Regions from separate parts of the Homo sapiens genome. Here all the other regions are linked to region 1. The links are contacts of gene promoters, found by promoter capture Hi-C in blood cells and fetal thymus (Javierre and others, 2016). All regions are on one chromosome and are shown on one strand. The core of a region is centred on a gene start or on the middle of the fragment in contact, and the rest is flanking DNA. Distances in the headings are between cores, read along the strand shown. Region 1 holds the start of KRABD5 (KRAB domain containing 5). Region 2 overlaps FBXL19 (F-box and leucine rich repeat protein 19). Region 3 overlaps SETD1A (SET domain containing 1A, histone lysine methyltransferase). Region 4 overlaps STX4 (syntaxin 4). Region 5 overlaps STX1B (syntaxin 1B). Region 6 overlaps ZNF668 (zinc finger protein 668).

The links. Contacts are between HindIII fragments. The CHiCAGO score rates a contact against its expected background, and 5 or more counts as called.
Region 2: a fragment that was not itself captured here is called in contact with the fragment with the promoter of KRABD5 in region 1 in 1 of 17 cell types (total CD4 T cells); the score reaches 5.4 in total CD4 T cells.
Region 3: a contact is called between a fragment that was not itself captured here and the fragment with the promoter of KRABD5 in region 1, in 3 of 17 cell types (fetal thymus, non-activated CD4 T cells and activated CD4 T cells). The highest score is 7.2, in fetal thymus.
Region 4: a contact is called between a fragment that was not itself captured here and the fragment with the promoter of KRABD5 in region 1, in 2 of 17 cell types (total B cells and naive CD8 T cells). The highest score is 5.1, in total B cells.
Region 5: a fragment that was not itself captured here is called in contact with the fragment with the promoter of KRABD5 in region 1 in 2 of 17 cell types (fetal thymus and total CD8 T cells); the score reaches 6.6 in fetal thymus.
Region 6: a fragment that was not itself captured here is called in contact with the fragment with the promoter of KRABD5 in region 1 in 3 of 17 cell types (fetal thymus, naive CD8 T cells and total CD4 T cells); the score reaches 7.0 in fetal thymus.

What each region holds. Positions count from the first base shown.
Region 1 is chr16:31,711,671-31,714,661 of GRCh38, reverse strand. KRABD5 (KRAB domain containing 5) reads right to left here and starts at 1,418. Exons shown (of 5, transcript NM_001130913.2): 1 at 1,227-1,418. The coding sequence starts at 1,229. RefSeq lists enhancers at 1-7, 1,132-1,251 and a silencer at 982-1,041. The HindIII fragment of the contact is 15,701 bases long and covers 1-2,991 here.
Region 2 is chr16:30,939,527-30,942,293 of GRCh38, reverse strand. It overlaps FBXL19 (F-box and leucine rich repeat protein 19), which reads right to left. Exons shown (of 11, transcript NM_001382779.1): 8 at 15-178. Among named protein-coding and RNA genes, the nearest start is that of ORAI3, 8.2 kb to the left of the region's middle. RefSeq lists a silencer at 155-284. The HindIII fragment of the contact is 714 bases long and covers 1,145-1,858 here.
Region 3 is chr16:30,964,172-30,966,985 of GRCh38, reverse strand. It overlaps SETD1A (SET domain containing 1A, histone lysine methyltransferase), which reads right to left. Exons shown (of 19, transcript NM_014712.3): 6 at 2,663-2,814; 7 at 1,525-2,374; 8 at 600-1,385; 9 at 1-102. Among named protein-coding and RNA genes, the nearest start is that of SETD1A, 7.8 kb to the right of the region's middle. The HindIII fragment of the contact is 2,452 bases long and covers 339-2,790 here.
Region 4 is chr16:31,039,073-31,042,129 of GRCh38, reverse strand. It overlaps STX4 (syntaxin 4), which reads right to left. Exons shown (of 11, transcript NM_004604.5): 9 at 2,479-2,589; 10 at 2,312-2,407; 11 at 1,966-2,218. The coding sequence ends at 2,327. Among named protein-coding and RNA genes, the nearest start is that of STX4, 7.0 kb to the right of the region's middle. The HindIII fragment of the contact is 8,081 bases long and covers 1-3,057 here.
Region 5 is chr16:31,002,187-31,005,111 of GRCh38, reverse strand. The region is part of intron 1 of STX1B (syntaxin 1B); the gene reads left to right. Among named protein-coding and RNA genes, the nearest start is that of STX1B, 7.0 kb to the left of the region's middle. The HindIII fragment of the contact is 2,126 bases long and covers 268-2,393 here.
Region 6 is chr16:31,070,577-31,073,653 of GRCh38, reverse strand. The region is part of intron 1 of ZNF668 (zinc finger protein 668); the gene reads left to right. It also overlaps a transcript of ZNF646 not described here. Among named protein-coding and RNA genes, the nearest start is that of ZNF668, 2.1 kb to the left of the region's middle. RefSeq lists a silencer at 1-263 and enhancers at 152-446, 1-538. The HindIII fragment of the contact is 265 bases long and covers 1,584-1,848 here.

The sequences.
Region 1 (2,991 bases), core at 169-2,668:
CTCCTTTTGCAGGCTCAAATAAGACTGAGGTCTTCTATGCCTAGTCAGGGTTATTCCACACACCCGCTTCTCAATTCGCAGGCTCTCTCTTTCAGGTCCATCGAGGTGGGGTGCCTTCTTCCCATCTCATCAGCTCTCCACAAGCATCTAGCGAGCTCTAAAACCTACCCCAGGATAGCAAACGTCAGACCTTCCTCCACTCTCCTGGCACTGCACGCCTTCTGGGGAGTGCTGCCAATCCTACCTCAACTGAAGGGACAGGAGCAGGTGCCCAGCCAGTCAGATGTTCAGTGACCTAACAGGTTTCAGGAAAATAGCAAAATCACTCAAAACAGTTTTTATAGAAAGGAAGGAAACTGTAAGGCACTTACACTTTATACTTCAACAGGTAAGGCCAAAATACCTCTTTCGAGCAAGAAACATGTCATTTAATTATTTCCATAATAGCAGATCATTTAGTATATGTGAACACTTCTAGGAGGTGCCAAGTCCTGTCTCATAACATTTGGCATTAAAGTCGGACATCCAGATAGCAGTAGAATATGGAACACAGATATCCACTGTCACAAATCCTCCACTGCAAAAGAGAGGACCTGATATTTTAATGAATGTTTGTAATTGACCAATTAATCTAGCACACTTTCTGTGGAAATGTATTCGTTTTCTACAGCCAAAGTGGAAGAGAGATTGTCCCTATTTCTTTTCCCCAGCAGCATTCCTAAGCTGAGCCCTGGGATTTTGAAATCGCTGCTCCAGAGGACCCTAAACCACAAACCACGGCGGCAGGCTTCCCATTTCACCAATCGCTGTTTACCTAAATCAACCCTTTAACGCTTTAAGGGTGACTCCCCTTAATTTGTAAGAGGAAAAAGGAGACTGGGACACCACGGGGCACAGTATCTTCCCACACACGAATCACACGCCGACCCGGGATTTCCCCTAAGACCCTCACGTTCTCACCGCACAATCTCGGGAGACGCCGGGCTGCGGCGACCCAAAGACGGCTCCGGCCATGGCAGAGGTCGCTCTGCGGGGTCGGGAGGGGACCGGACGCGCGGGGTCCCGGCTGCCGGCCCGGCCGCCATCTTGCGGCGGAGGGGACCAAGGGCCGAGTTGCGTCCGCGGGGACTCAGGGCCCAGACCCCGAAGCTAACCTCAAAGAGGGTTCCCGCCGCTTCCGACCGCCCCTCTCCCTCTTCTGGGGACCCCCGACCTGGCACATTCACCATTTCCCAGCTTCCGGGATGTCCTGGCGTCTGAGCTACGGATCTCCCGGTGCCTGCCGGTCACAGAGTAACAGAGGTTCTGTCTATTCTCAGAACGCGAAGCCGCCTTGGCCTCCCAGATGGAAGGACTGGGAGCCCCTGGTGAAGAGACTGAGCTCTTACTGCAGCCAACAAAGGCCACCGCCAAATCCCGGAAGCCGCCCCTGCTCTCCGGCTACTCCCGATTGGAGGATTTCCACTCCGACGCCACTGATTGGGTAAAGCTCCAGGCCCCGCCCTCTCACTCGTTCTGCTTTTTGAATGGGAGACAGGCTCATTGAGGTGGGGCCACCTGCTGAGGGTATTACAGCTAATTTAAGGGGTGAGCTTGGACTTGAAATGCACTTGCTTTCCCGTACCTGGTTTTGCTTGTATAAGGCATCTTATTAGCTAATTAAGTTTAAGAAGGAGGGCATTTGGGCACCTTTAAAACAACTTTTTAACCGTTCTAATAACACAGGAAAGACCCTCATCCCATCCTTAGCACCTCTCATCACACGGTACCCCACTGCTCAGGACATAACTGTGGGACTGCAGAGGAAACTGCTGGGGTTTTTGGGGAGCATGCAGGAGGCTTCAACAGCCAAGGTAACGGTGGCTTCCCTTGGGTGTCACTTAAAATCTTGGGGTCAGGGACATCTTTTATCCAGTTGGCTCAGGGAAACTAACAGACAGGAGGATTGTAATTTTTTTTTTCTTTTCTGAATTTCCAAGACATAAAGGACTATCCAAGCATCCCAAAAGGCATTCAATTATACATAAGGCTGAGGGCCTCCCTGCTCTGGAGAGGGATGGCCTGGCAGCCACCAGCTGCAGTGAGCTGAGATAGTGCCACTGCAATGGGCCTTAAACTTGCCCTCTTGTAGACAGGCCACCTCCACACACCCGCTTCTCACATCGCAGGCTCTAACCCTCCGGTCCATCAAGGTGGGCTGCCTTCTTCCCATGTCATTAGCTCTCCACAAGCATCTAGTTAGCTCTAAAACCTACCACAGGATAGCAAACGTCAGACCCTCCTCCACTCTCCCGGCACTGCACGCCTTCTGGGGAGTGCTGCCAATCCCACCTCAACTGAAGGGACAAATCTGGGCAGGTGCCCAGTCAGATGTTCAGTGACCTAACAGGTCCAGCATGCCCAGGGCCTGACCCCACAGCCTAGCACCCCTCCCCCACCTGGCCTTCAATCCAGCCTTTCTTCTCCAATGACGGGATGTTCACCTGTGCCACAATCCCATTAGTCTAGTGACGAGGCCAGGTAAATCCCAGCTGAGTGCCTGTGACTCCACCCTCTTACTTCCCACTCAGGTGACATTACAAGCATAACCTTGAATTTGAGCTAATTTATACATATTCCTCTCCTAGTAACCTGTTTGACAACAGCCCTCACAATCCAGAGACTGGGGCAGCAGGTTCCAAAACCTCACTTTATTCCAATGTGAAATGAAGACATGATGGTTTAAAAATGAGAAAAAGTTCCTGATAAGCTGTGGGGGTGCTTCACTTGCCAGCTCATGCCCATTCCCTCTGAAACAAGGTGTCTGTTACCCATAAACAACTCTCTGTAAAGCCCCAGGTAGAGGTCACAGCTGGACGTGGCTCCCTCAGGCTCACAGGGTAGCAATCTCCTCCCCCAGTCCAGGCTTCCACAGCAGGCACGGACAGGTGCAGAGAGGGAGTGGCCATGGCCTGTGGGGTCCCCTGCCACCCTCAGAGCTAGTCTCTGCAG
Region 2 (2,767 bases), core at 252-2,751, 770 kb after region 1:
ACCACACACCCTACCTTGTAGTCGGTTCAGAAGCCACATGAGCTGCTTCTTGGAGACACCTGTCCAGCTGAGGTCCAGGGCACGGGGCTGGCGGCGAACCACACCACTGAGCATGGGCGGGGTCAGTGACTTCCGCCGGCTCAGGTCCATTCGAGGCCACAGACGCTTGTCATAGCACCTGGCGGCCATAGGGGGGAGACAGAGACCTCAGCCCTCAGCTCTCAGCAGCCCACAGTTCCCAGGCTCCCCAGCTCCAAGGGTGCACCCCAGCTCTCTTCTGGCCACACAGACAACAGGGTAGCAAGAAGCACCTGACCTCAGCCAAGAGCACTGGGATTGGAACCCAACTCCATCACTAACTGGAAATGAGACCCTGGGCAAGTCTGTTCCTCTCCCTGAGCCTCAGAAGCCTCGTTTATGATTGAAGGCAATAGCCCCCCCACTCTGCCTGCCCACAGGGCAGCTGTCAGGTCACATGGGCTCATCCCAGCTGTGGGCCTCCCAGCATAGAAAGTGTGCTGCCCAACACATACACAAATGCCACGCATGCTGCCTGATGTCATGCCAAGGGGACTGGTGTTATCCAGTCGTCTCCAGCCACCCTTGGGCTTCTTGATTCCTGACTGAGTTCTGGTGCTCATGGGTCCTTGCCTCCTTTACTCATCTCTGCTTCTGATCCACACCTGTCCCATCTTGACAGCCAGCTGCCCGCAGCTGGACTTACAGCCCTAATATCTTCCCTATTACATTACTGTGTTCCTCCAACTACAATGTAAATTCCACAAGGGCAGATTTGCGTTTTCCACTTTTTGAAAAAAAATTTTTTTTGAGACAGGGTCTCACTCTGTAACCCAGGCTGGACTCAGGCTCACCGCAGCCTCAACCTACTGGGCTCAAGCAATCCTCCCACCTCAGCCTCCTGAGTAGCTGGGACCACAGGCACATGTCACCACGCCTGGCTAATTTTTAAACAATTTTTTTGTAGAGACAGGGTCTCACTATGTTGCCTAGGCTGGTCTTGATCTCCTGGCCTCAAGCGATCCTCCTGCCTTGGCCTCCCAAAACACTGGGATTACAGGCATGAGCTACTGCACCCAGCTGCCCATTTGTAATGAATGAATCAAGCTAGTAACTACTTAAAGCTTCCACTGACCACTCTCCCCCACCTCCTCATCTACAGCATTTCATTTATTCACTCTGATTATAGAAAGCGTTATAGGTCCCAAGTATTGAAGCTACAAAGATGAACGAGTCCTAAGCAACATTAAACAGGTTTCCTAACCCGAGCACTCCACAGGCCTCAACAGACTATCTAACATGCAGTGGGCTGGGTGCAGTGGCTCACACCTGTAATCCCAGCACTTTGGGAGGCCGAGGTGGGTGGATCATGAGGTCAGGAATTCGAGAACAGCCTGGCTGTTCTACTAGTGAAACCCTGTCTCTACTAAAAGTACAAAAAATTAGCTGGGCATGGTGGCGGGCGCCTGTAATCCTAGCTACTCGGGAGGCTGAGGCAGGAGAATTACTTGAACCCGGGAGGCGGAGATTGCAGCGAGCCGAGATCGCACCACTGCACACCAGCTGGGGCAACAGTGAGAGACTCCATCTCAAAAACAAACAAACAAACAAACAAACAAAAAACATGCAGTGAACTGGAGAAGGGCCTCTCAAACGTACTTCCCCAGGAATCCTTCCCCACCTCTCCCAAGGTAATCTAGTAACATTTTGTAGTACACTGAAGTTCCTTTGGACTCAGTTTGAGAACTCTCTTCTCTGAGTTCAGTAGTTCTCAAAGGCATGTCCAGAAATGCCTCTGAGACTCAATAGACTGTGTCAGAAGCAGCAGGCCCAGGAAGCTTTTTTTTTTTTTTCTTGAGACAGTGTCTTGCTTAGTCACCCAGGCTGGGGTGCAGTACTGCGATCACAGCTCACTGCAACCTTAAACTCCTGGGCTCAAGCCATCCTCCTACCTCAGCCTCCTGAGTAGCTGGGACTACAGGCACATGCCACCACACCTGACTTTTTTTTTTTTTTTGAGACAGAGTTTCGCTCTTGTTGCCCAGGCTGGAGTGCAATGGTGTGATCTTGGCTCACTGAAACCACCATCTCCCAAGTTCAAGCGATTCTCCCGCCTCAGCCTCCAGAGTAGCTGGGATTACAGGCATGCGCCACCACGCCCGGCTAATTTTTTGTATTTTTAGTAGAGATAGGGTTTCTCCATGTTGGCCAGGCTGGTCTCGAAATCCTGACCTCAGGTGATCTGCCCACTTTGGCCTCCCATAGTGCTGGGATTACAGGCGTGAGCCACTGTGCCTGGCCTATTTTTTTATTTTTAGTAGAGACAAGGTTGTCCAGGCTGGTTTTGAACTCCTGAGCTCAAGCGATCCTTCCCTTGGCCTCCCAAGGGAAGCTTTCTCTTGCCTCCCTCCCTGCCCTCATGACTCTGAAAGGCTTTTCCTTGTAGAAGCCCTGGGCTGGGGCAGTGATTCCCAAGCTCCAGTATTTGCTGTTCACTTATCTGCGTAACATGATTTATCTTTGAATCATCTCCTCTTTGCACTTAAAACCAGTATTGTTGCCGGGCGCGGTGGCTCATGCGTGTAATCCCAGCACTTTGGGAGGCCGAGGTGGGTGGATCACTAGGTCAGGAGATCAAGACCATCCAGGCTAACACAGTGAAACCCCGTCTCTACTAAAAAAAAAATACAAAAAATTAGCTGGGCGTGGTGGAGGGCGCCTGTAGTCCCAGATACTCGGGAGGCTGAGG
Region 3 (2,814 bases), core at 315-2,814, 750 kb after region 1:
GCTCTTGGCCCAGTCCACGAGGGACAGCAGGCCAGGCTCCTTCAGCTTCGTCTTCTCTTTATCCTCCTCCTTGGCTTGCTGCTTGGCCGCGTTCTGGAATGGCTGCAGGCAGCAGTGGGGCTGAGCCCCAGCGCCCAGAACCCAGGCATTCCCTCCTGCCTGAGACCTACTCCCGGACCCCAGGAATACAGAACGCATCTACTTGCTGCTCCATATCTTGGTCACACCTGTCCCAGCCCCCGCACGGCATTTTCTCAAAAGTCTGTCATTTCGCCCACCAGTCTTAAGAAATAGCCACCATTCCCACTTCACAAGTGGCAAAATGGAAGACCAAAGCTTGAAGAGAGCTAAGGGCCTTGTCCACTGCAAGCCAGCAAGGAATGGAGCCAGGACAAAGCTCTGCTGCCTCCCAGGCCCATCTGTGCCTGCTTCTCTGTCCCCTCAACTCCCCTGCCCACCCAGGGTGGCCTGCAGGGCCTGCGGCCTCTCTCCACTCGCCTCCATCACCTGTCTCCTCTGAGCTGTGCAGCCTGGAGGAGCCAGAGGCCCATTTCCTCCTGCAAAGCCCAGGGCTCCCCGGTCCCAGGCGCTGGCCTCACCTTGGCCTTCTCCTCCTTGCTCTCCCACCACTGGTCAAAGGCTCCGAAGGCCACGTTCTCCACCATCTTGCGGTTGAGGTCTCGCTGCATGATGCTCTTCATCTCCTGGACCAGCATGGCGAGCACACGGCCCACGGTGCCTGCTGTCGGGAGGGTCTTGCCCTCTGCCAGCTCTGCTTCTTCCCTGGGTGGCAGCCGGGCCTCCTCTCCCGAGACTGAGGAGGAGGGCAGGGGCTCGGCTGCCATTGGCATGGGCAGGTGGTAGGCCTCCCGTGAGTATGCCCCTCTGCCCTCCTGCCCCTGTGCATATAGAGCATACGGCAAGCCGTAGGCTGCCTCCTGCGGGGGTGGAAACGGGAGGAAGGCCTCCCCAAAGGCCCCACCGGGGGGGCCAGCTGAGGCGGCAATCAATCCCTTGCCCTGCCGCAGCTGATGGAGCCGAGTTAACATCTGGGTCTGCATCTGGAAGGACATGGGCATCCCTCCCCACTGAGCCCCAAGTCGGTCCATGAGCTCCAAGGAGTTCACAAAGTCATAGATGTGCGGGGGTGGTGGAGGAGGTGGGGGGTACTCAGGGGGCGGCGGCCCATCAGGTCTGGGTGGGAGGAGGTAGGCAGGTTGGTGGGGAGGATAACCAAGAGGAAGGGACGCCAGGTAGGGAGGAGGAGGCGGCGGGGGAGGGGGAGGTGGCGGAGGCTGCTGAGGGGGCGTCGGGGCCGGAGGGGGTGAGCCACCCCGGTCGTCGTCGGAGATCTCCATGTCGTCTCCAGAAGAGCATGGAGAAGCCTGCGGGGGCAGAAGAGGGTCACAGAAGGCTTCTGCCTGACCCAAGCCCTACTTTCTCATCTGGTTCCCTTCCCTCTCCCCTAGGCCCAACCCTGACTCCCAGAGCCCAGGTGCCTCCTCTGGCTGACCCCAACCTCACCTGGTTCTGTCCATTTGCCTTGGGAGACTCCCGGGTAGCCCCTGGCTCCCCGCTCCCTGTAGGTGCCACATCCTCAAAATTAGCTGGGGCCGGAGGGGGTGTGCAGGGCCCATGCCCTGACCCAGAAGGCACCTCACTCCCTGTATCTCTGGCCCCAAGGACCATGCTGCTGTTCTCTTCCTCCTCCTCTGTGTCAGAGGCCAAGAAGGAAAACTTGGAGCGCTGCTCCTTCAGCAGCATCTCGATGCGGGAATCCAGGCTGCTGTGCTGGGCGAAGGGCACACTCTCATTGGTGGTCTCCGGGGCTGGGGAGCCAGAGCGGGCAGGGGAGGCTGGGCGGGGGGAAGTCCGAACTTCTTCTCTCTCAGGGCTGGGCCCTCCTCCACCCCCGCCTCCACCAGGTTCTGGAGGCTCCGGGGGTGGAGCCTCTGAGGCAGGAGGCCGGTAGTCCTGGTCGGTGGGCCGGCTGGGCTCGGGGGGCAGGTAGGAGGTGTAAGAAGGTGGGAAGCGCTCAGCTGTATTTTCAGCAAAAGGGGCTCCAGGGGGTTCCTCCCGTGTGGCCCGGCGTGGTGGGTAGGAAGTATGGCGCTGGTAGCGATTCCAGCTTTCATAATACGCTGGGTAGTTTGCATCAGAACTACGAAACTGAGAGGACGAGGAGGAAGAGGATGACGAGGAGGACGAGGACAATGAGGAGGAAGAGGCGGAGGATGAGGCAGTGGCTGCAGTGGTGGCGGCGATGGCCGTGGAGGCGGTTGTGGAGGCTGAAGATGCAGAGAAGTGGCGGCGGGAAAAGGCATCTTGGTAGCTGTTCTCTGACCGCCGGGGCTTGAAGGAGGTTGAAGTGGTGCTGGAGAAGAAGCAGGGGAGTTAGCTGGACTCAGCTCTCTATGACCAAACCACAGCGTACTGGGTCCCAGGGCCCAAAGCCCCTCTATGCTGCCCTCCAAAAGAAGAGCTATATGTTGGGTTCCTAGCTAGTGTGTTCCCCGAGGACAGCAATTTGTTGACTGAATCCACAGAGAAACTAGGACAAATTATTTCCAACTCCCTCTTGGAGACAGACTCTGGGCATCTTCTTCCCAGTGGCAGCTCCCAGACTTTGCGGGCGGGGCCCCAGGCGGGGTCTGCTCTGTACCTGCTGGAGTAGGCAGAGTCCTGAGAGTAGGGGGTGCTGCCCCGAGACGTGTAGGGGGTTCCTTGGGAGGACTGAGGTGTGAACTGGCCAAAGGAAGATGGGGTATCTTGTCGGCTGCTGGAGAAGCTTGTGTCCTGGGAGCAGGGGGTGCC
Region 4 (3,057 bases), core at 110-2,609, 670 kb after region 1:
AAGTGGGATGGACTGGGCGGCTGCGACGCAGTCCCCAGACCTTGGAGGTCAGAGCTAGGCGCCGCCCTACTGCAAGTAGGCAGGTGCCAGGAGCCGGCTTACCCTTTAAAACTAGGTGTCGGGGGCCGGGCGCGGTGGCTCATGCCTGTAATCCCAGCACTTTGGGAAGCTGAGGCGGGCGGATCACGAGGTCAGGAGATCGAGACCATCCTGGCTAACACGATGAAACCCCGTCTCTACTAAAAATACAAAAAATTAGCCGGGCGCGGTGGCGGGTGCCTGTAGTCCCAGCTACTCAGGAGCCTGAGGCAGGAGAATGGCGTGAACCCGGGAGGCGAAGTTTGCAGTGAGCGGAGATCGCACCACTGCACTCCAGTCTGGGCGATAGAGCAAGACTCCGTCTCAAAAAAAAAAAAAAAATTAGCCGGGCATGGTGGCGGGCGCCTGTAGTCCCAGCTACTCTGGAGGCTGAGGCAGGAGAATGGCGTGAACCCGGGAGGCGGAGCTTGCAGTGAGCCGAGATTGCGCCACTGCACCCCAGGCTGGGCGACAGAGCGAGACTCTGTCTCAAAACAAACAAACAAACAAACAAAAACTCTAGGTGTCGGGGAACAGGAGCCACGTCCACTCCAGAAATTAGGCATCAGGACTAGGAGCCCTTAGAAATTTAGGCGGTGGCTCACGCCTGTAATCCCAACACTTTGGGAGGCCGAGGAGGGCAGATCACGATGTCAGTAGATCGAGACCATCCTAACACGGTGAAACCCCGTCTCTACTAAAAATACAAAAAATTAGCCGGGTGTGGTGGCGGGTGCCTGCAGTCCCAGCTACTCGGGAGGCTGAGGCAGGAGAATGGCGTGAACCTGGGAGACGGAGCTTGCAGTGAGCTGAGATAGTGCCACTGCACTCCAGCCTGGGCAAAAGAACAAGACTCTGTCTCAAAAAAAAAGAAAAAAAGAAATTTAGTCAGGGCTTGGATTTCAGGTACCTTATGGAAGAAATCAGAGGTCAGGCTTTTCTGCTGCCACCACCTGCTTCAGCCAGGTAACCCTCAGCAACCAGGTGCACTGATCCAGGATCACTGGCTCTCTATGCTGCTGCTGCTGCTGCTGCTGCTACTGATGATGATTGCTATTATTTTTGAGACAGGGTCTCGCTCTGTCACCCAGGATGGAGTGCAGTGGGATGACCATGGCTCACTGCAGCCTTAATCTCCTGGGCTCAAGCGATCCTCCCACCTCAGCCTCTGGAGTAGCTGGGACGACAGACACTTGCCATCACGCCTGGCTAATTTGTAAAATTATTATTCTCTAAAGAGAAGAGGTTGCCCCATCCTGCCTAGGCTGGTCTCAAGCTCCTGGGCTCAAGAGATCCTCCTGCCTGGGCCTCCCAAAGTGCTGGGATTACTGGTGCGAGCCACCACACCCTGCCTAAACGCTTATGTAAAAGATGATGCTTTTGTTGGTCACAGGGCCCGGCCTCCTGTGCTTTCTGACTGGCAACCTCTTCCCCAGCTTAACATCCCACTCCAATGTCATCCCTGCTGAAACCAGACCATCCCTATCCACTGCATCCAAAGTGACAGCCTCAATTAGGCATTTTTTCATGGTGCCTCTTCCTCTGGGCCACAAGAAGGCCCACTGATGCCACCCAAACCCCCATCTCACCTGCGTCCCAGCCTGGCCTGGTCAGCCTCATCATTTCCAAGACAGATACTCACAGTGGTCCTTTCCCGGGGACAGTACTGAGCCAGGAGCTAGATGCCGGTGTTACCCCTCCCTGCCCACCCATTCCTATGGGGGTGCAGAAAGGCAGAACCAGCCTGCTGTGGGCACAGCACCCCTGGCAGTTTGACCTGAGCAGCCAGGGCCAGACCTGGCCCTGGGGACGTCCAGGAGGTAAGGAGGTTGGATGCCCGGAAGCCTTGGGCCAGCCCTTCCAGGAACACACGTGCACAGGGCTTTCTATGCTCTTTTTTTGTTTTTTAATTTTTTACAAAACCGTGTGTCCCGGCCAATCAGGACAGTGCAGGCCTCCCCCAGGCATTGAGGCCTGAAGGAGGAGGCCATCATGAATGAGCAGCTGCCAACCCCAGAAGAACTGTCTGCCCTTCTGCATAGGGGCCAGTGTGAGGAAGGGGTCCGACTGGAGGCTCTGCCCTGCCCCCCAGGCTGCTGGGAGAGAAGGCCAGGCCCTGGGTTCCTGGTGCTCCTAGTGCCTGTAAGGAAAGGAGGGAGAACAGGGTCTGAGGGAGGAGGGAGGGCTGGGGCCAGGGCTGGGGCAGGCCAGGGGGCAGCCCACAACATCTCACCAACAATGTGCGACATTATCCAACCACTGTGACGCCAATGATGACTGCTAGGAGGACGACGGTGATGGACACACAGATGGCAATCAAGACTTTCTTCTGTGGGAGAGGAGGGGGTCAGGGAAGTCACACAGGGTGCCTGGGGCAGTGGCCGGGCCTGGGAGGCTCACCTTCCTCGCCTTCTTCTGGTTCTCCAGGGCCGTCTTGACGTGCTCCTGCCCACGTTCCACGTAGTCCGCTGAGCTCAGGATGTTCTTCTCAATCCGATTGATCATCTCCCCCTGCTCAGAGGATGGGGTGGTTCAGGGAGGTAAGGATGCCTTTGCCCACCCCACCCCAGATGACTGAAGAACATTCCTGGCAGGAAAAAAAAATTGCACTAACAAAGACAAGGGCAAGACTTGATCTGACAAAAGTTCAGACTCCTTGGGGATGGCTTCCAGGCCCCTTCTATCATGTAGTCCCTTGTCCCCTGCTCACTTATCCCATACAACCTCTATCTGCAGTGGTAGCTTGGAGCTAAGGGCCTCAAATGGCTCATACCTTTCACAGATGGTGAACTGTGCCTTCACAAATCTGTCTGAATTTACCCATTCTTCCAGGCCTATCTACAGCTGCTGCAAAGCCCTCCCTATCCCTGCCTCCTCCTGGCACCACCAGCCTCAGGTCTCAGTACTCCTACTGAATGAGATCTCTTTCCTGTAAGTCTCAGCTGCAAAAGGGCATTGGCTGTAGCATGACTGAGGCCA
Region 5 (2,925 bases), core at 81-2,580, 710 kb after region 1:
AAGTTTGCCTGGGGTCACACAGCAAGACAGACGGAGGCTGGGAGGGATGGCCTCCTGTCCAAGCTCTTCCTGCAGCCCTGGGCCCCTCCTACTGATTTTCTGTCCTGGCTGCAGGAGTTCAGCAGTCCTGAGGACATGGCAGAGTGGGCTTTTTAGGACCAGGAGGGACTGCCATCTGTCAGCAGGACAGAAGGGAGAGAGCCTGACATTTAGTGCCAGACAGTCCTGGGTTCAGGTCCTACCTCTGGCCTCATTTGCTGTGAAGCTTTAGGCAGGTCAGGCAACCTCTCTGAGCCTGTTTCCTTGTCTGTAACATGGAATCAGCCGGTGGTAGGCATTGTTACCACTCAGCAAATGCAGAGACTAGGCTCAGGGGTAGAGCCAAATGGTCTTCTAACAGCTGACCTGGGGCAAGTTCTTTTTTTTTTTTTTTTAAGAAACGGGGTCTTGCTCTGTCACCCAGGCTGGAGTGCAGTGGCACAATCACAGCTCACTGCAGTCTCTTGACCTCCTGAGCTCCGGGGATCCTCCTACCTCACCCTCCCAAGTAGCTGAGACTACAGGTGCGCACCACCATGCCCAGCTAATTTTTGTATTTTTTGTAGAGACATGATCTTGCTATGTTGCCCAGGCTGGTCTTGAACTCCTGGGTTCAAGTGATCCTCCCACCAGAGCCTCCCAAAGTGCTGGGATTACAGGCGTGAGCCACTACAACTGGCCTGAGTTATTTAGCTCTATGCCTCAGTTTCCCCATCTATAAAAGGGGGCTATAATAATACCTCCAAGGGGACTGTTGTAAGAATGAAATGGATAGATATATGTGGAGCACATAGAACAGTGCCTGGCACATTGTAAAACATCATCTAAATATTTGCATAAGTATAATTATGTTGGCCAATGGTCCTTACAGAGTCCTAATGAAGATTAAATGAGATAACAAGAATGTAAGACTTACGCAAAAAATACCATCAAGTGCTCTTGTTTTGCTAGGTTGTCCGGACACAGAGCCTTCCCCAGATTGGGACTTAGCAGGCGCTCACTGAGAGGGAAAGTAACTGGGAGCGGAAAGTCAGTGGGGGAGGTAGCCCAGTCTGGAGCCTAACAGCGGTCTTTGAGGGGCTGGATGCCCATGGTTTTCTGGCCCTATGTGGCCTGGGTGCCCTTGGGCAAGTCACTCTCCTTTTACCCCCCTGGCTTCCTGTTCCCTCATCTGTGAAATGGGGACGATGATGTTTATGCAGCTTTTCTCTCAGGGCTGGTGGTGCTGAGGATCAAAACGGATTATGGATGTAAAAGTGTTTGTAAATGGTAGAGGATTATTAGCTCCCAGCTCTCTTTGTATTTATTATACCAAATAAACCACACTTGGGCCTTCTATCATTCTTCCTGTCTTGAGGGCAAACAAATAGGTAGCCCAGGGTGCTCCAGAGATGAACCTAAGGGAGGTGGCTCCAAGAACAACAGGAGAGATTGAAATTAGATTTTAGGAAAGACTTCCTAACATTAGCATGGGGAAGGGAGAGACACAGAGAACAGGAAAGTCCTCAGGCACCCGGGCCAGGGAGAGGCCGCATGACCTGCGTGAGGCTGGTGGCTGAGTGAGTGGTTGAAGGGAGAGAAAGGGCAGAGGAAGGCTTTTGGCTCTAGGGGAAGGAGGCCTTGTAGCACAGCTGGATTTTGAGGACAGAGAAAGTGAAGAGCATCATGGTAGGCCGATGGGTCCTCAGAGGTGAGCCCAGCATCCCAGAGCCTCTCAGGGTCCCCAACTTATGCCACCTGTGCCGCCCCACTTTCTGGGGGCAGCTGTGAGCCAAGACAGAGGAAACTCCCTTTCCAGGCGGATGGTTGGGATTGTCTGGAAATTCAACACAAGTGCTGAACACATTTTCCGACACAGTGTGGGCCCAGCGTCTGTGTGAAGACTCCCTGGAGTTCCATTTGGGCTGGGCTTAGCAGGGAGGCTGGGGTGGCTCAGGAGCGTGGAGCTGGAGGCCCCCCAGGCTGTGCTGGCTTTTCCTGGGGCTGTGGGGCACTGCTGATCCTGAGTTTTGGCTGTGTGGACTGCACCTAGGTCCCATCTGGCCCTGTCTAGGTTCAATCTGAGCTGTCTGGGATCTGTCTGGGATCCGTGTGAGCCTCGGCTAGTTCAGTCTGAGCCTGTCTGGTTTCTGTTAGGCCCTGTCTGCGTTCCGCTGGGACCCTGGCAAGCTCTTCTTTTTGGATTCCAACTGAGTACACCCCCAGGTGGATGCTGTTTGGATCCTGTCTTGATTTCACCCAGCCTCTGGGGTTTGGATTCTGTCTGAGCTCTGGCTGGGTTCTTTTTGGAAATCAGAATGAACTCTGTATACATTTCCACTGGGGCTGATCAGGGCTCCAGATGTCATTAAGCTTGATGGACTCAGATTTTGCTGTCAGACCTCTGTCCCAAGCAGAGAAGGACTCAGGTGTGTGTAGCACAGGGCACCTCCCCTACAGCCTCTCCTGTCCAGCTCTGAGTGTGTGTGCAGACATGAGGCTCGGAGAAGCTGGAAGAACAAGCCCAGTGAGCCCTCCCAAATGTCCTCAGGGGTGCAGCTGAAAGCCAGTGTGTCCACACATGTCAGTGCGGCTCAGCTGTGAGTCTGCGTGCGGGTGAACGCCAGCATCAGTGCATCTCCGTGTGGGTGTCGGGGGGGCCTATTCCTGTGTGCCTTGGGTGTCAGCTCTTCTGTCTGTGTCTCGAGTCTGTCTGTCGGTGGCAGTGGTGCTGTGGGTGGGTAAATCTCTTTGTGTCTCTGAGCCCTGCGGGTGGAGGGTTGAGCAGCTGCAGGTTGCAACTGGGAAATCCAAGCCAGCAAGAGTAGGTGGGTGTGAAGTTGGAAGGGGCTGGATGAAAGCAAGTGAATCCACTGCGAGGGAGAGCCGGCTGGGAGGGGAGGGAGA
Region 6 (3,077 bases), core at 467-2,966, 640 kb after region 1:
AAACGTCGGCGGGAAGCCGCGAGGGCCCCGGGCAGCTCCCACGCGGCCACGATCCGAGCTGGCCTCAGTTTCCCTGCGGGCGCCGAGGGCGGGCCGGGTTGGCCCAGCGCGAGCAGCGCGGGCGGGGCGGGCTGTGAGCGGCCCCGGGCGCATTGCGGGCCCAGCAGGTCCTAGAACCCGCCGGCTGTCTCCGCGGTTCTGGGCTGCGGACACCCAGGCTCGGCCCGCGCGGCTGCTGGCCCGGCGCGGTGTGGTCCCGGGGGTCCTAGAGCCCGCCATGTTTTGGGTTTTTGTCCCGGTCGCGTGGCCCGCGCTGCAAGATCCCAGGCGCCGGCGGCCCCCTCCCCTGCTGAGGCCCGGCCACCACTCCCGCGGTCCTAGAGAACGCCATCTTGCAAGCCTTTGTCCCTCATTCGGCCTTCCGTCCATTCATTTGTTCATCTCCTCATCCTTCGTTCAGTCCTCCTTGCCACGTCCTCCGAAGCCACGTTTTCTGAGGCTTATAACCGGGGTCCTGCCCTCCAGGGGCTGCCTGGCTGGCGGGGGCGCCGCGTACAGACGGTTGCGAGGAGCGAGGAGCTCCGGGTTTCTGCAACTCTCGGCTCCTCGGCGCGCTTCGTAGGCCCCACCGCCCTTCAAACTCCCACAAACTTAAGGGACCCCATTTTACTGATGAGGAAACTGAGGTCCAGAGCGGCGTGGGGCCCTTACCTCTCTACTGCCATAAAGTATTCCTGAGGGCACTAGGGAAGGGGGTTCTTGAAGGATGTAAAGGGGCTTTCCCGTTGGAGAAGGCAGGCAAGGGCTCCCCGAGCCCAGGAAACTGCATCTAGAGGTGGAGGATTGAGAATTGTGGCTGGAGGTTCGGTCGCTGCCGGGAGGAGGACTCTGTCGCTGGAGCTGAGGCTGGAAAAGTAGGTTGGGATCAGGTTGTGAACTGGCCCGGTAGGAGGCCTAGGATATGATTAGCGCTCACTTCTGCAGGGTTCATCCGCTCACTACGTCACTCCTGGCCGTGAGGCCTGTGTGGTGACTGCTTGTTTAGAGATGGGAAGATTGAGGTGCCTCCTTTTTCTCCTCATCCCTGCCCCAGGGTCCTAGCCTAGGATTTTTGGAAATTGAATCTTTGCTTGCCTAGTGAGACAGCAGAACTTCATCCCCTTCCTAAGCCAGTAGTGAGGCAAAGCAAGGCTTCATCGCCACGACAGGGAGCCCACTGTGGGATATTGGGGCAATAGTTGAGCCTTGTGGAGTTGGAAAGGTGGAGGAATTTAGTTAATAAACAGTTATTGGTGGACATTCTCACAAACTCCTACTGTGGAGGAGGCAGAGGCTACAGACCTGGGTTCAAATTTCATCTGAGGTTGGTTCTTTCCATTTGTTTTGGGTCACCACACAGGGTTCTGGGTGTAGAGGAGGCAGATGATCGGTTTCCTAGCCCTTTGCCAGCCTGGACTCTGGTGCTGGTGATGAAGAATTAACAGCCAAACCATAAGATGTGTAATGCTAGCAAAGCAATAGTCAGGGCTCAGAGAGCAGGTGTTTGGGATTTGAACACTGGCTGGGACCGTGACTAGTAAGCTTGTTTCTTTGTGGTGTCACTTCTCATAAGAACGCTAATCCTACTGGACCAGGGCCATACCCTTATGACGTCATTCAGCCTTAATTACTTCCATAAAGGCCTTGTCTCCAAATACAGTCACAATGAGAGTTAGAATTTCAATATATGAATGGACAGGGAACACAAACATTCACTCATAATGAACTGCTAGGCAGCTGTGCAGTTGGCTTGAGTAGTTGAGTATTATGCACAAAATGCTTAGAATGATACCTTGCCCATGGTAAGCTTGCAAGGAGTATTGTCCAGATGACACCATAAAGGAAATTAGAGAGGAGGGGTGCTGGTCACTGTGGCTCATGCCTGTAATCACAGCACTTTAGGAAGCCATAGTGGAGGAGCATCTGAAGCCAGGAGTTCTTGAGACCACTGTCGGCAGCGTAGTGAGACCTCCATCTCTATATACAAAGAATTTTTAATAAATTAGCGAGGTGTGGTGGTGGGTGCCTATAGTCCTAGCTACTCAGGAGGATTGCTTGAGTGCAGGAGTTTGAGGCTGAAGTGAGCTATGATTGAGCCACTGCACTCCAGGGTGACAGAGTGAGACCCAATCTCTAAATAAAAATAAAGGCCAGGCACGGTGGCTCACGCCTGTAATCCCAGCACTTTGGGAGGCTGAGGCGGTCGGATCACTTGAGGTCAGGAGTTCGAGACCAGCGTGGCCAATGTGGTGAAACCCTGTCTCTACTAAAAATACAAAAGTTTGCCAGGTGTGATGGCTTTCGCCTGTAGTCCCAGCTACTCGGGAGGCTGAGGCTGGAGAATCACTTGAATCCGGGAGGTGGAGGCTGCAGTGAGCTGAGATGCAGCCACTGCACTCCAGCCTGGGCAACAAAGACTTTCTCTCAAAGAAAATAAATAAATAAAAATGAAATAAATAGGCCGGGCATGGTGGCTCAAGCCTGTAATCCCAGCACTTTGGGAGGCCAAGGTGGGTGGATCACCTGAGGTCAGGAGTTCCAGACCAGCCTAGCCAACATGGCCATCTCTACTAAAAATACAAAAAATTAGCTGGCTGTGGTGGCAGGCACCTGTAATCCCAAATACTTGGGAGGCTGAGGCAGAAGAATTGCTTGAACCCAGGAGGCAGAGGTCGCAGTGAACTGACATCACACCATTGCACTCCAGCCTGGGCAACAGAGGGAGACTCTGTCTCAAATAATAATAACAATAAATAATAAAATAAATAAAAATAAGCCAGGCACGGTGGCTCATGCCTGTAATCCCAGCACTCTGGGAAGCCGAGGCAGTGGATCATCTGAGGTCAGGAGTTCGAGACCAGCCTGGCCAACATGGTGAAACTCCATCTCTACTAAAAATACAAAAAATTAACCAGGCGTGGTGGTGGATGCCTGTAATTCCAGCTACTCGGGAGGCTGAGGCAGGAAAATCTCGTGAACCGGGGAGGCGGAGGTTGGAGTGAGCAGAGATGGTGCCATTGCACTCCAGCCTTGGCAAC